Linked DNA regions of Homo sapiens: region 2 is linked to region 1. Evidence: promoter capture Hi-C in 16 types of primary human blood cells and fetal thymus (Javierre and others, 2016). All regions are on one chromosome and are shown on one strand. Each heading gives the region's core, a stretch centred on a gene start or on the middle of the fragment in contact. The rest is flanking DNA. Distances are from core to core; before and after follow the strand shown. Region 1 holds the start of GNAT1 (G protein subunit alpha transducin 1). Region 2 holds the start of RBM5-AS1 (RBM5 antisense RNA 1).

Region 1 (6,440 bases), core at 1,233-3,732:
CTGCGGGGCCGCGGGGGCCTGAACCTGCGCCCCGGGCCCCACAGGCAACATCCCTTCGCCCTGTGCTGGTCGGGGAGCTCTCGGCCGGGACTACCACCCTTTCTGCTGGCGGGGTATCAGGGAAGGGGCAGGGTCTATCGCAGGGATGGGGTCCCCGGGGCAGGACGGGGCCTGGGGCAGTGACCTCCTGGGCTAGCGTATGGGTCGTACCGGAAGTTGAGATCCTTGAAGGAGAACTGCGTCTCGATGATGCCAGTGGTCTTGACTCGCGAGCGCAGCACGTCCTGCTCGGTGGGCACGTAGCCCGGGGTTACCAGGCGCTCCAGGTCGGAGAGGTAGCTGCGCGAGACCCGGCCGTAGGTGGGTGGGGAGGCGTGGAGGGCCCCCTGCGCCCCGCGCCCCGCGCCCCGCGCTGCCCGCGCGCTCACTAGCCCGCCGAGTCGTTGAGCTGGTACTCCGAGGCGCGCTCAAAACAGGCCTGGATACCGGAGTCCTTCCACAGCCGCTGGATGATGTCCGACATCTCCTTGGGCATCGTGCCCTCCTCGATAGTGTCTGCCATGTGCATCAGCTTCCGGGCGTCGTCCTGGGGGCAGGGTGAGAGTGGCTGGTGGCGGCCAGGGACTCGGGCCCAGCCGCGAGCCTCGAGTCCCCAGAGGCCCGCTCAGCCCGCCTCCTGGCACACCTGGCGTGCAGAGTCTCCGTACTGGATGTTGAGTGTGGTCATGGCGCGTACGATGGCCAGGATGGACTGCAACGTGTTGCCGTAGATGATGGCGATAAACTCGAGGCACTCTTCCAGCGAGTACCCGTCCTGGTGGATAATCCTGAGGCCGAGGAGAGCAGAATCAGCGCCTCGTGGGGAAGTGGGGAAGGACCCAGACCCAGGGGCCTCGGGACAGGCAGGGGCACTCACTTCATCTGCTTGACGATGGTGCTCTTCCCGGACTCACCGGCACCTGAAAGAGACGCGGCGCCTCAGAGCTGCGCTGACCAGCCTGCCCCCTCCAGCAAGGAGGCCAGGAGGACGGGGACCTCCCGAGTTGGCAGGGTGGACCCGCAGCGAAGAGGCCTGAGCGCCAGCCCCGACCCCGTAGCCACACCTACCCCCCCATCCAAATTAAGTCCTGACATCCTGAAGTCACAAGGTTTGCAAATGCCAGGAAAGTGAAGAAAGGAAGCCAACGAGGGGACTCAACGACCTCAACTGTTCTGGGACAGGGGAGTCCCCAAGACCCCGGCACAGGCAGCCTTTATTATGCTGTGAGACTGCAATGAAGAAATCCCGGAGCGTCATCGCCACCTCGTGGGAGCCTCTGGTACCGCAAGCACTGGGTTATTTGAGGCGGGTAAACCCCTTGCATTTCACCTGAAGGGGTGCAGGTGTCTCCAGGAGGCTCAGAGGGAATTAGCTCTTTTGGGTAGGAGGGAGGGCAGAGTTGACATCCTTTCTGAGCTTGCCCCTGCGAGGGCGTTGGGCACAGTTAATGAGATTTCCGGCTTAGCCTCTCTGCCTTGGGGGAAAGTGGGACTGGCTTGGTCCCTCACCCACCTCCAGCTGGTTGACCAGACCCTGGGGAGCTTGGGTGGAGCCCCTCTTGAAGCTGCTTTTTCCCCTTGAGAGGTCAGGCAGTGACCTTGAGGCAGGCCTGGATCAGCCCCATCTCTCCTCAGTGCCCATGGTCCAGTGGACGCGGCTTTATCTACTCCCACTGGGCCTCAGTACCCGCCAGCCCCTCTGGCTGCTTTGTAGGTCTATCAGCCACAGCCCTCTGGCACCTGAGGGCCATTCGTTGTGGATCTGGGTGGTCCTAGAGGCTCCCCACTCCCAGGAGGACTATGGCCATCCCCTTCCCAAAGTAGCAGCCCAATAACGGGCTCCCAGTGAGGCTCCTGGCTTCTGAGCATTGCCTAGCAGGCGTATCAAACCAAAGGCTGCATGAAGCTTGCGGGAACCCAGCCACGGAAAAGTCGGCATCACACACCCGTGCAAGAGTGTGGTTGGCACGCACTTCTGGGGAGGGTGGGTCACCTGAGGCAGAGCCGTCTGGAGAGGGGCTTTGTGGGATGTCCAGCCCTGGGGGACTAGGACACCACCTGTCAGGCCTGGCCTTGCTTGGCCAGGGCTCCCACCCTGTGCCCTACTCTGTCACAGGCTCATACTGCTTCCCAGGGAATCCTTGCTTCACAGAAGGGCTGCCTGCCTGCCTCCAGACCAATGACCTGGTGGCAGTGGCCCCACCTGGGCCCACACCCCTACCCAGAAGCAGCAGCTTCACGGTTCGAGCATCCTTCTCAGCGTCCTCTTTCAGCTTCTTTTCCAGCTCCCTGGAGTGCTTCTCCTCAGCACTGGCCCCAGCCCCCATGGTCCCAGCAGCAGGCGAAGGGACAGAGTGAGCAGGTGGTTCTTCTGGATGGAGGGGATCCCCAGAACCTGGCCTCCCAGGCACCCTTCTGGCCCCAGGAGGACCTGCAATCAACTGGCTCTCTACGGACCTGTGCAATCCCTGGTGGGGCTGCTTAGTGGGATTTGGGGGCTAGGGGTGTCCAAGAGCCAATCAGAGACAAGGACAGGTGAATCCAGCTCAGCCCCCCCAACCCTTCTAATCGGGCTGGCATAGCCCCAATCCCTCAACCGCTGACTCTGCACTCCGGCTGTCCTTCTGTCCCCGCAACCCTCCAGGAGAGGCCCTGGCACTGCCTGGGAGTGGGGAGACATGTTCAGTAGGGTCAGGGCTGAGAAAGGGGAAGGCAGAACCTTGAGCCCTGGGGGTGAGGACAATGGAGGTGGGGCTGGCAGTGAGAGGGCATAATTGGGAGAAACATGCCTGCTGCCTGCCCGGCACCAGGCTCAGCACCACTCCTTATCTTGTTGTAAGCTCACACTGGCCCTGGAGTATGGATGCCCATATCATCAGCCTCATTTTACTGATGAGGAAGTAAAGGCTGAAAGGGTCACACAGTAGGAAGTGGTTAAGAAGGGCTGGTGACTCTGGACTGGGATTTTATGACCTGCAGGGAATCCAGAGAGAGGGAAACAGTGGGCATTGCATTCATCCCATATCACAGGCTGGAGCTGCCCCAAGGAGGTCCTCTGCTTCCAGCGGACTGTGGTGGGCATGCATATCTGCTCTGTGTGCCTCGGTGTATGTGTCTTTTTTTTTTTTTTTTCTGAGATGGAGTCTCGCTCTGTTGCTCAGGCTGGAGTGCAGTGGCGCAATCTCAGCTCACTGCAAGCTCCACCTCCCAGGTTCACGCCATTCTCCTGCCTCAGCCTCCTGAGTAGCTGGGACAACAGGTGCCCGCCACTACGTCGGGCTACTTTTTTTGTATTTTAGTAAAGACAGGGTTTCACCGTGTTAGCCAGGATGGTCTCAGTCTCCTGACCTCGTGATCTGCCCGCCTCGGCCTCCCAAAGTGCTGGGATTACAGGCATGAGCCACCGTGCCTGGCCTTTTTTTTTTTTTTTTTTTTTTTTTTTTGAGACAGAGTTTCACTCTGTTGCCAGGCTTGAGTGCTGTGACACGATCTTGGCTCACTGCAACCTTCAACTCCCTGGTTTAAGCTTCTCCCACCTCAGCCTCCCAAGTAGCTGGGATTACGGGCATGTGCCACCATACCCAGCTAATTTTTTGTGTATTTTTAGTAGAGACGGGGTTTCACCATGTTGGTCAGGATGGTCTCGATCTCCTGACCTTGTGATCCACCCACCTCGGCCTCCCAAAGTGCTGGGATTCAGGTGTGAGCCACCTCGCCCGGCCATGGGTGTGTCTTTTGCTGGCACCAAGCGAGCAATAACTTGACACATTTGTGCATGAATACCTGTGTGTACATGTGTGCCTGCATGTTTATGCCTTTGTGAGTGCATGTGCTCTTATAGGAATCACGTGCCTGTGCGCATGCTTATGTATGTGTGCACATGTATACACATGTGTATGCATGTGTGAATATGCTTTGTGTATTCTCTTCATGCACACATAGGCTTGTGTGTTTTGCAGTTTGTGTAGGTTTGCATGTGTGCACTTGCTTATACGCAGGGGTGTAAACATGCCTGTTTGTACCTGAGCATATGTGTGCCTGTGCATGTCCATCTCTGCCTGTGTATGACTGTGTGTGTGCATGCATGCTTGCAGGCGCCTGTGCCTATATGTACACTTGAATTTGGGTGCAACAAAGTCTCTAATCTGCAGAAGTGGCCAGGCTCTTCCAGAGAATGTTTTGCAGGCCTGTTGCCAGGTGGAGAAATTGCATCCCAGAGCAGGTGTAGTGTTCCCTGGGGTATGGAGGAATGGGGCTCACCTATCCTGCTCCTGCTCTGTCTGCTGTGGGTGCTCTGAGGCCTGCCTAAGATTATCTCCAGGGCCTGCCTGCCTCAGCTTAGGGGGTCTGGTGCTCTGTTCAGGTGCAGGGCTCACTGCCGGGCAGAAATTGTTCAGGTTGAGCTCCCAGGTTCTAGAGACTTCCCACCCTCAACTTCCATAGGAAAACCCAAATCTTGGGCTCTCAAAGGCTCCTCCAGGCACCCTGAGCCTCCTGGCTGGACTCTTCCCTGGAACCTGGCTGCCTTTCAGCACTCAACTCTGCCACAGACTCAAGAGACCACAAGGGGGTGCCGGGGCACCAGACACTGAGCACTAACGGCTGTCTCTAAATAGTATGCGTGGGAAGTGAATGCTGGCTCCTACCACAGGCTGGCAGCTTCTACACCCACCCTGTTGGATGATGGGGATCTGTCCAGGAGTGAGGCCGTTGCATTTCTGCCACTTTCAGCCTTCAGGCTCCACCCACCCTCCCTGACCCTGAGGAGTGAGTGGGCCCTGAGGGGTCTCTACAGCCCTTCGCACTACCCAAGTGTTTGGGGTGGTGCAGCAGCCCAGGTTTGTCAAACTAAATGTGGTTTCTACATGTTGGGTTTCTTTAAATGGAGCCAATCTACTCCCTTCCCAGCCCCCCACCTGGCTCCCCAGGCCCACCACGTGTGGCTCTAAATCCCCTGACCAAGGAGAGAAGCCAAAGTCTAGTCCCAGAGCCAGTGTTTATTAGCAAGATGGAACCCAAAGGCGGCTGTGGCCTGGGCAGCAGAAGGCCACCAGGAGCCCCCACCCATCTACCCAACTGCCCCCCAGAGCTAATTACATCCACACCCATCCCCTGAAGTGGTGGACATAAGGGAGCCCTGGGGAGCCTCTACCGGCCCCAGGCCTCTACCACGGACCCCCTCCCCTCAGAGCTGGGGCCTCCCGTCAGCTCTGCCTGGGCCTGGCCCCTCTGCTATGCTCCCAGCCTCTGAGTCAAAGTGGCACAGGGAAAGCTAAGGAGGTAGAGTGGGGTGGCCCTGCCCTGGCCAGGCGGGGAGGGGAGAAGGGGCTGAAGAGGCTGTCCCACCCAGGCAGGATGCCTCTTCTCCTATCCCCAATAAATAGAGAATAAATACCCAGGAAGGGGCTGGTCGTGGCTGAGTGCCCCCAACCCAGGCAGGGGCTGGCATCCTGTGATGGCCCCTTCTTCCCTTCTCTGTGTGCTCTTGAGGCCACCCCAGTCTCCAAAGTGGTCCTCGCATCCATGTCTATGCCACAGCACAGGCTGACAACACACATCAGAAAAGGTGGACAGTCCGTGCCCCATCCGAGTAGGGCTTGCTCCCTCCCTTTGTCCTGTAGATCTTGGCGGAGGCTGTCCAGCAGGTAGACTTCCAGCTGAGTCTGGGGACTGTGTGGTCCTGGCCTGGCCCCACCAACTGGCTGGGCCTGGTTAGGCAGGCTCTGTTTTCTGCCGTCTCTGACCAGCATGGGTCTAAGTTTTGGAGGATGCTGCCACTGAGGCAGGCTATATTCAACCCACCAATAAATACTGTCTTTGCAGGGGCAGGGTGTGTATAGAATATAGATATTTTATATATATATATATATATATATATCTTTTATATTAAAAGGGACAAGGGCTAGGCTGGCCCATGGCAGGCACAGGCAGCTGGCCTCATGTGTCCGGAGGGTGGTGCCGGCGGTTCCGGGGCTTTTTCTGGTCCTGGGGCTCAGGAGACCGGGGTGCCCCTGGAGCCTCCCTGGGGCTGGGGGGCACATGGCGCCAGTAACCCTGGCAGTACTGGTGGATGAGGCCCACTTCTGGCTGGGCCAGCAGCTGGGCTAACTCCTGGTAAGGAGGCGTTGGGGGGCCTGCGCCTGGGGGTGGCGGGGCGCTCATGGACAGTGGTGGGAAGAGGGCAGCATGGACGGCGTCCCGGCCCAGTACATGCAGCTGCACTCGTGTGACGACGTGCTTAAAGTTGTTCTCAGTGGCTGTGCAGGAGTAGAGGCCACGATCGCTGAGCTGCAGTGCACGGAGCAACAAGCCCTGCTCTGTGCGCAGGAAGCGGTCCTCTGCACGAATCTGCAGGGGCAAGGAGAGGGGGTTCAGAGGCTCTGTGACCACCCTATGGCCCT
Region 2 (6,440 bases), core at 1,631-4,130, 91 kb after region 1:
AATATCCTAAAGGAGTTTTGTCTATTTGGGAAGAACATATGCTTACCTTGTTACAAAGCCAATCTTCAAACTTAGGTCTGGGATTGCTATAATGCATTGCAATGTGCTTTCCTTGAATCACCAACTTTTTCTGTAAGAAAAGAAGTAATTAGTTATTCCCATTGTGAGGAACATGTGTCCATTTTCCCAGGGCAGAGCACACTTCGGAAAAATCAGTGCTCTGGAATTAAATGGACAACATACGGGGAGGACCAACCACCGCCACCTATACTCTGCCCATCCAATCCTTCAGATAGGCAGTAAGAGAATGGGATGCGGAGTAAAGGTAAACGGAGTCAGGGAGTGCTGAGAAAGCTGTCAAACACTAAACGCTGACTTGCACCAGGCCGTGTCTCCAGCGGAGACAGAAGTCCTAACATTCAGCATTGACAGGCTGCCTGAGTGTGACAGTCTACTTCAAAAAGCAGAAGACACAATTCTCTCAGTTCTGAGACTGTCTCTTACTTTTGCCCTTAGCATGGTGTCCTTGGGCTTCGCTTCACCTTTTTCCCCAGTCCCCCATCCTTATGCAAAGTAAAAGCCTTTACATTTCTCCTTCCCCCCACACCTTCTGCTTCAGGATGAGTCCTTTGGGGGGAAAGGGAGGGGAACTCATTTTTAAAGGGAATCTGGTTACAATTCTTTCTCAAGAGGGACTATTCTGAATGCCACCAACTCTAAAACAACTAAATGAGATTTTTTTTTTCCTGTCAACTGCAACCATGTCATGTCCTAGGTGACAGATGTGTTTTTCACTAAAATGGATGGTACTCTCTTCAAGGTGAGTAACCAGGAGGCCAATGAAGTTTCTTCAGGGGGGTAGGAAAAGCTCATAAATGCACACACCACCTCATCCTTCAAGTCAACCATGTGACTACAAGGACTTAGCTTTAAAAAGTCAAAATTCTGAGCTGAATCAATCTAGCCAAGAGTATACCTAGCACCTACCCCTAAAGAGCCTTCATTTAACAGGAGCATCTTTTCTTTTTCTTGGGGGTGGGAGGATCAAGGGTGGGGGTGGTTTGACACTATCAAACAGATTTAAGTAGGTGGTTAGATATCCAGATTTTAAAAAGGAGTCTAACCCCTCTAAACATACATACTGTTGAGCAATTTGGTTCTTGCAAATCCTGGAAGATTTAAGACATGCTGTGAATTTTGTCTCTGCGATATCTAAAGGCAAGACTGCATGTCTGGCCAGGAGAGAAAAAGCTGAAGGGCCATCCACTCACTGTGATATACAGAAGCAAAAATAAAAAAGCTGGGAGATATGTGAATAGATCATCCCACTAGGAGGGATGTGTGCTGGGAGACTCCAAACTACCAGTGAGTCCCTAATCCTACTGGCCTTTTATTTCTGGAGTGAATTTGAACTGTAATGTGTTACACAGTAACATAGCTTTGTATACATTAAAATTGTGGAGACTTTTAAATGTCTTACAGGTTTTAGTTTCTTAGGAGTTTTAAACTCCTAGGTTAGTCATTCTGACATATCCACTGCATCAAACAATGCTATCATGTCAAGAAAGCAGACTCACATGAACCTTGTATATGTTCTGGATTTACTAGGATGGTATCTATGGTATGAAATGAATGAAGCTCTACTTTTAATAAAATCAGGCTGTGATTTCTGGGTTAGGAAAATGAGAGGCTTAAAAACTTTAACAAATCAGTCAGTCAAAGTGATACCCTCATTAGTGAGTCTTGTTATAAATGGCAATATTACCAATCAAAGAATGTAACTTTTATTCATGGATTCATGGATGACTCAAATCACAGAATGCTGCAGAAAAGCAAGATAATGAGTCAAGCAAACTTCCCAGAATGCACTTGGTTAAAGGCATTCAATAATGTGCCTTGGAGTTCTTGCAAAAAATGTTATTTAAGTGCCAAGCACTGAACATTATCTTGACAAACTGAAGAACACTTCAGTTAACACTACCTCGAAGAACCATCAATGACTTGCTTTGAACAGACTATAAAAGGCATTCTCAAGGAGATTAGAATGTTAATGCCACTCTAACTAGATTAGACAGCTGCAGGACACCACTCCCAGGCTAATCTCATCAGACTTATTGTTCATAAATTCCACTAAGTCCTTAAATATTCCCTGAAGACCGGTCTGAGCAGTTACGCCTCCAGGAGGCTTTGTGGTCTTCAGGCAGAAATAAGGAATTACTTATAAAAATGCCGCCACAGACTTTCACTATGTTCTCTTCACTGTCAAATGGAGAGTTTGATATACTAAGCTTACTCTCAATGGACATAATAGGAATATAACAAACTAGAAAAAAGGGAAACATTAAGATGTTTTAGTGATTACCAGACAGGTATTCAGTAGTTAACAAAGCCCTGCCAGGTAGGTAGCCATGTTTAAAGGCAGAACAAATTCTATAATGAAGTCCTTGGTACTGTACTTATTCTAGTAACATCAATTTTAATATATACAAAGCTTTTTTTTTAAAAAAAAGTCACTCCTTTGGAACAAACCACTCCTTCAACCTTTTTTTAAAATTGTACAGACTTGTTCCATTTTCATGAATATCTAGACTTGGTGAGTGAAGCAACCTGATTGGCTTCCATCCAGCTGGTAGCATCTTGCAAGTGATAAAACTCCACGAAGGCGAAACCACGGCTTACACCTAGAGACAGCATTCAGATATAGACGGGATACTTGTGTTAGTCAGTTCCTTTATAACAGGTGAATCTCTCTCCCACTGCTTCAACACTGCGTGACAAAGCCAATTGGGAAGCAGCTTTACAAATGTGACTTGACTTGGGGATCTTCTTGATACTTTGCCATGGCAAGGAACAAGCCGCCTGAACTAAATGCCACTCCATTTGATTCCACGCTTAAAGTAACCATGCAACCGACTATAGTCAAAAAAAAAAAGGAGTTTATAAATCATTACTTACCTAAGGAAAAAAAAGTCCCTAAAACAAAGTTTAAAAAAGTTCCTCAGATGCTAACATGGTTTTCAAAGAGTCACATTCCTTAGCCATGGCAAACCTTTCATTCTGAATTCATGTGCTTGAAGACTGGGGGAATCAGGATGTTCTTTAGGGACTGAGGTGGGAATGGGGAAGAGAACAATAATATCAGGAACTAAGCAAGCTCTCACCTGTTTTCCTCTTCATCAGCCTCACATCCGCAGGCTGAGGGCCTTCGAAGGACTCCATCATTTCTCGAATCTGCACAGGGTTTTACATTATTTACAGTTAAAGCTTTTGCCACACACTATTCCCCATGGAATAGGAATTACATCAACTGTTTAATTAGCCAAGTTTTTTTTTTTTTTAAGATGGGAGTCTCTGTCTCTCACTCACTTGATTGCCCAGGCTGGAGTGCAGTGGCATGATCTCAGCTCACTGCAACCACCACCTCCTGGGTTCAAGCAATTCTCCTGCCTCAGCCTCCCGAGTAGCTGGGATTATAGGTGTGCACCACCATGCGTGACTGATTTTTTTTTTTTTTTGAGACGGAGTCTCGCTCTGTCACCCAGGCTGGAGTACAGTGACGTGATCTCGGCTCACTTCAACCTCCACCTCCTGGATTCAAGCGATTCTTCTGCCTCAGCCTCCCAGGTAGCTGGGATTACAGGCATCCACCACCACATCCAGCTAATTTTTGTATTTTTAGTAGAGACGGGGTTTCACTGTGTTGGACAGGCTAGTCTCGAACTCCTGGCCTCAAGTGATATGCCAGCCTCCCATATCATTACATGCATGACCCACCATGCCTGGCCTAATTAGCCAAGTTTTTATCTTCTATCACCAAAATGCAATTTTCCTAAAAGGCACAAAAAAGAGAGAACATTTCTCATAGAAATTAATGCATTATAACAGCACTGAAGGCATTCATTAAATGTTGCATGGGAATTTCCCTCAGGTGTAATTAATTTTTCCTTTTTTTTTTTTGAGACAGGGCCTAGCTCTGACACCCAGGCTGAAGTGCACTGGTGTGATCTCAGCTCACTGCAACCTCTGCCTTCCTGGACTCAAGTGATCCTCCCACCTCAGCCTCCTAAGTAGCTGGGACTACAAATGCACACCACCACACCTGGTTAATTTTTGTATTTTTTGTAGAGACAGAGTTTTGCCACGTTGCCCAGGCTGGTCTGGAACTCCTGGGCTCAAGCGATCCGGCCACCTTGGCCTCCCAAAGTGCTAGGATTACAGGAGTGAGCCACAATGCCTGGCCGCAATTAATTTCTGTTATGATACACATCCTTGCTTGTGGTATGATGTCTCAAGCCTCCATCCTTTAGTCTAATCTCCCTGTCCTTTGTTCTGCAGGATAGTACAGTGGCTCAAGCCTATAATCCTAGCGCTTTGGGAAGATGAGGCAAGATGAGCGCTTGAGCACAGGAGTGTGAGACCAGCCTGGGGAACACAGTAAGACCCCATCTGTATACAAAAATTTTAAAAATTAGGCCTCGCATAGTGGCTCACGCCTGTAATTCCAGCACTTTGGGGGGCCAAGGCAGGTGGATCACGAGGTCAAGAGATGGAGACCATCCTGGCTAACACAGTGAAATCCCGTCTCTACTAAAAATACAAAAAATCAGCCAGACGTGGTGGCACGTGCCTGTAGTCCTAGCTACTTGGGAGGCTGAGGCAAGAGAATCGCTTGACCCCGGGAGGCGGAGGTTGCAGTGAGCCGAGATCGCGCCACTGCACTCCAGCCTGGGCAAGAGTGAGACTCCGTCTCAAAAAAAAATAATAAAATAAAATAAAAATTACCCAAGCATGATGGTATACACCTGTAGTCCTAGTTACCTGGGAGGCTGAGGTGGGAGGACTGTTTAAGCCCAGGAGTTCGAGGTTACAATGGGCTATTGCACCACTGCACTCCAGCCTGGGTGACAAAGTGCAACCCTATCTTTAAAAAAATAAAAAAATAAAAATAAGGACTCAGATGAGATTTAAAAGAGGCAGTGGATGCGTCACTGTGCCCTGAAGTACGCCTAATCAAGAATAGCCTTCCTGCTCTTTGAGGCCTACTCTCAAAATAAGGAAAAAAATCAACAGCCAAAAAATGAAGAGCCTGATGATAAACTTTTTTTTAAATTTTTTTGAGATGGAGTCTCACTCTGTTGCCCAGGCTGGAGAGCAATGGCATGATCTCGGCTCACTGCAACCTCCGCCTCCTGGGTTCAAGCAATTCTGCCTCAGCCTCAAGAGTAGCTGGGACTACAGGCGCATGTCGCCACACCCAGCTAATATTTTATATTTTAGTAGAGAGGGGTTTCACCATGTTGCCCAGGCTGGTCTCCATCTCTTGGGCTCAGGTAATCCACCCACCTTGGCCTCCCAAAGTGCTGGGATTACAGGCGTGAGCCACCGCACCAGGCCAGGTAAACATTTTTAATGGATCATACTTTTCTTACAGTTAAATTATTGGTAAAAATTTTCAAAGTTCATCACATTCTTAGGCTCCTAATAAATCAAACATTAATTGGGGCTAGAATAAAGTATTCTGGCTGGTAGGCTTGTTCCAATGTCAGACCAACTCCTTTTTCCAAAAGGCCACAAAAATATACTAGTCTCTTCATCAATAATATCAGGCATGAATACTACCATGAAAAAAAAAACAGGGTGAAATTTGTGGAAACAAGATTCTCACTGGCCTCTACTTTCCATAACTAGGTGCAACGGCTGCAAGACTACACACAGCCAATCCTCATTATCCTCAGGTATCACACCTGTGAATTCAACCACTCATTAAAATTTCTAACACTCAAATCAATACTTGTAGCAGTTTCTTTTTTTTTTTTTTTGAGACAGTCTTGCTCTGTCGCCCAGGCTGGAGTGCAATGGCACGATCTCGGCTCACTGCAAGCTCCGCCTCTCAGATTCATGCCATTCTCCTGCCTCAGCCTCCTGAGTAACTGGGACTACAGGCGCCCGCCACCACGGCTGGCTAATTTTTTTGTAGTTTTAGTAGAGACAGGGTTTCACCGTGCTAGCCAGGATGGTCTCGATCTCCTGACCTTGTGATCCGCCTGCCTCAGAATCCTAAAGTGCTGGGATTACAGGCGTGAGCCACCGCACCTGGCCAACCCTCAGTAATATTCTTTTAGGCTTAGCTAGACTTTTGAGAACTCTAGCCCCTAGCCACAATAGCACTTTGCCACTCATCCCTCTCCTGCCAAAAGCCTCTGACTCCAGCCAAATCAAGCCGATTGCTAGGCCTTATCTAGATTCAGTACCTTTCTATTCCCTGCTCATGTGATACCCCTCCGCCTGAAGGGCCCATCTACCACACCATTCCCTTAGTTTTCCACGCCTATAATCCTAGCACTTTGGGAGACCCAGGCGGGAGGATTGATTGAAGACAAGAGTTCAAGACCAGTCTAGGCAATAAAGAGAGACCTTGTCTCTACAAAAAAAAAAACAAA

The links. Contacts are between HindIII fragments. The CHiCAGO score rates a contact against its expected background, and 5 or more counts as called.
Region 2: a fragment that was not itself captured here is called in contact with the fragment with the promoter of GNAT1 in region 1 in 1 of 17 cell types (endothelial precursors); the score reaches 5.7 in endothelial precursors.

Annotation. Positions count from the first base shown.
Region 1 is chr3:50,187,652-50,194,091 of GRCh38, reverse strand. GNAT1 (G protein subunit alpha transducin 1) reads right to left here and starts at 2,482. Exons shown (of 9, transcript NM_144499.3): 1 at 2,261-2,482; 2 at 917-959; 3 at 686-827; 4 at 429-586; 5 at 211-339. The coding sequence starts at 2,366. It overlaps SEMA3F (semaphorin 3F), which reads right to left. Exons shown (of 19, transcript NM_004186.5): 19 at 5,017-6,387. The coding sequence ends at 5,977. RefSeq lists enhancers at 1-209, 210-726. The HindIII fragment of the contact is 1,620 bases long and covers 1,948-3,567 here.
Region 2 is chr3:50,096,773-50,103,212 of GRCh38, reverse strand. It overlaps RBM5 (RNA binding motif protein 5), which reads right to left. Exons shown (of 25, transcript NM_005778.4): 5 at 3,162-3,231; 6 at 2,608-2,681; 7 at 47-130. RBM5-AS1 (RBM5 antisense RNA 1) reads left to right here and starts at 2,225. Exons shown (of 1, transcript NR_045388.1): 1 at 2,225-3,610. RefSeq lists a silencer at 2,570-2,770. The HindIII fragment of the contact is 773 bases long and covers 2,494-3,266 here.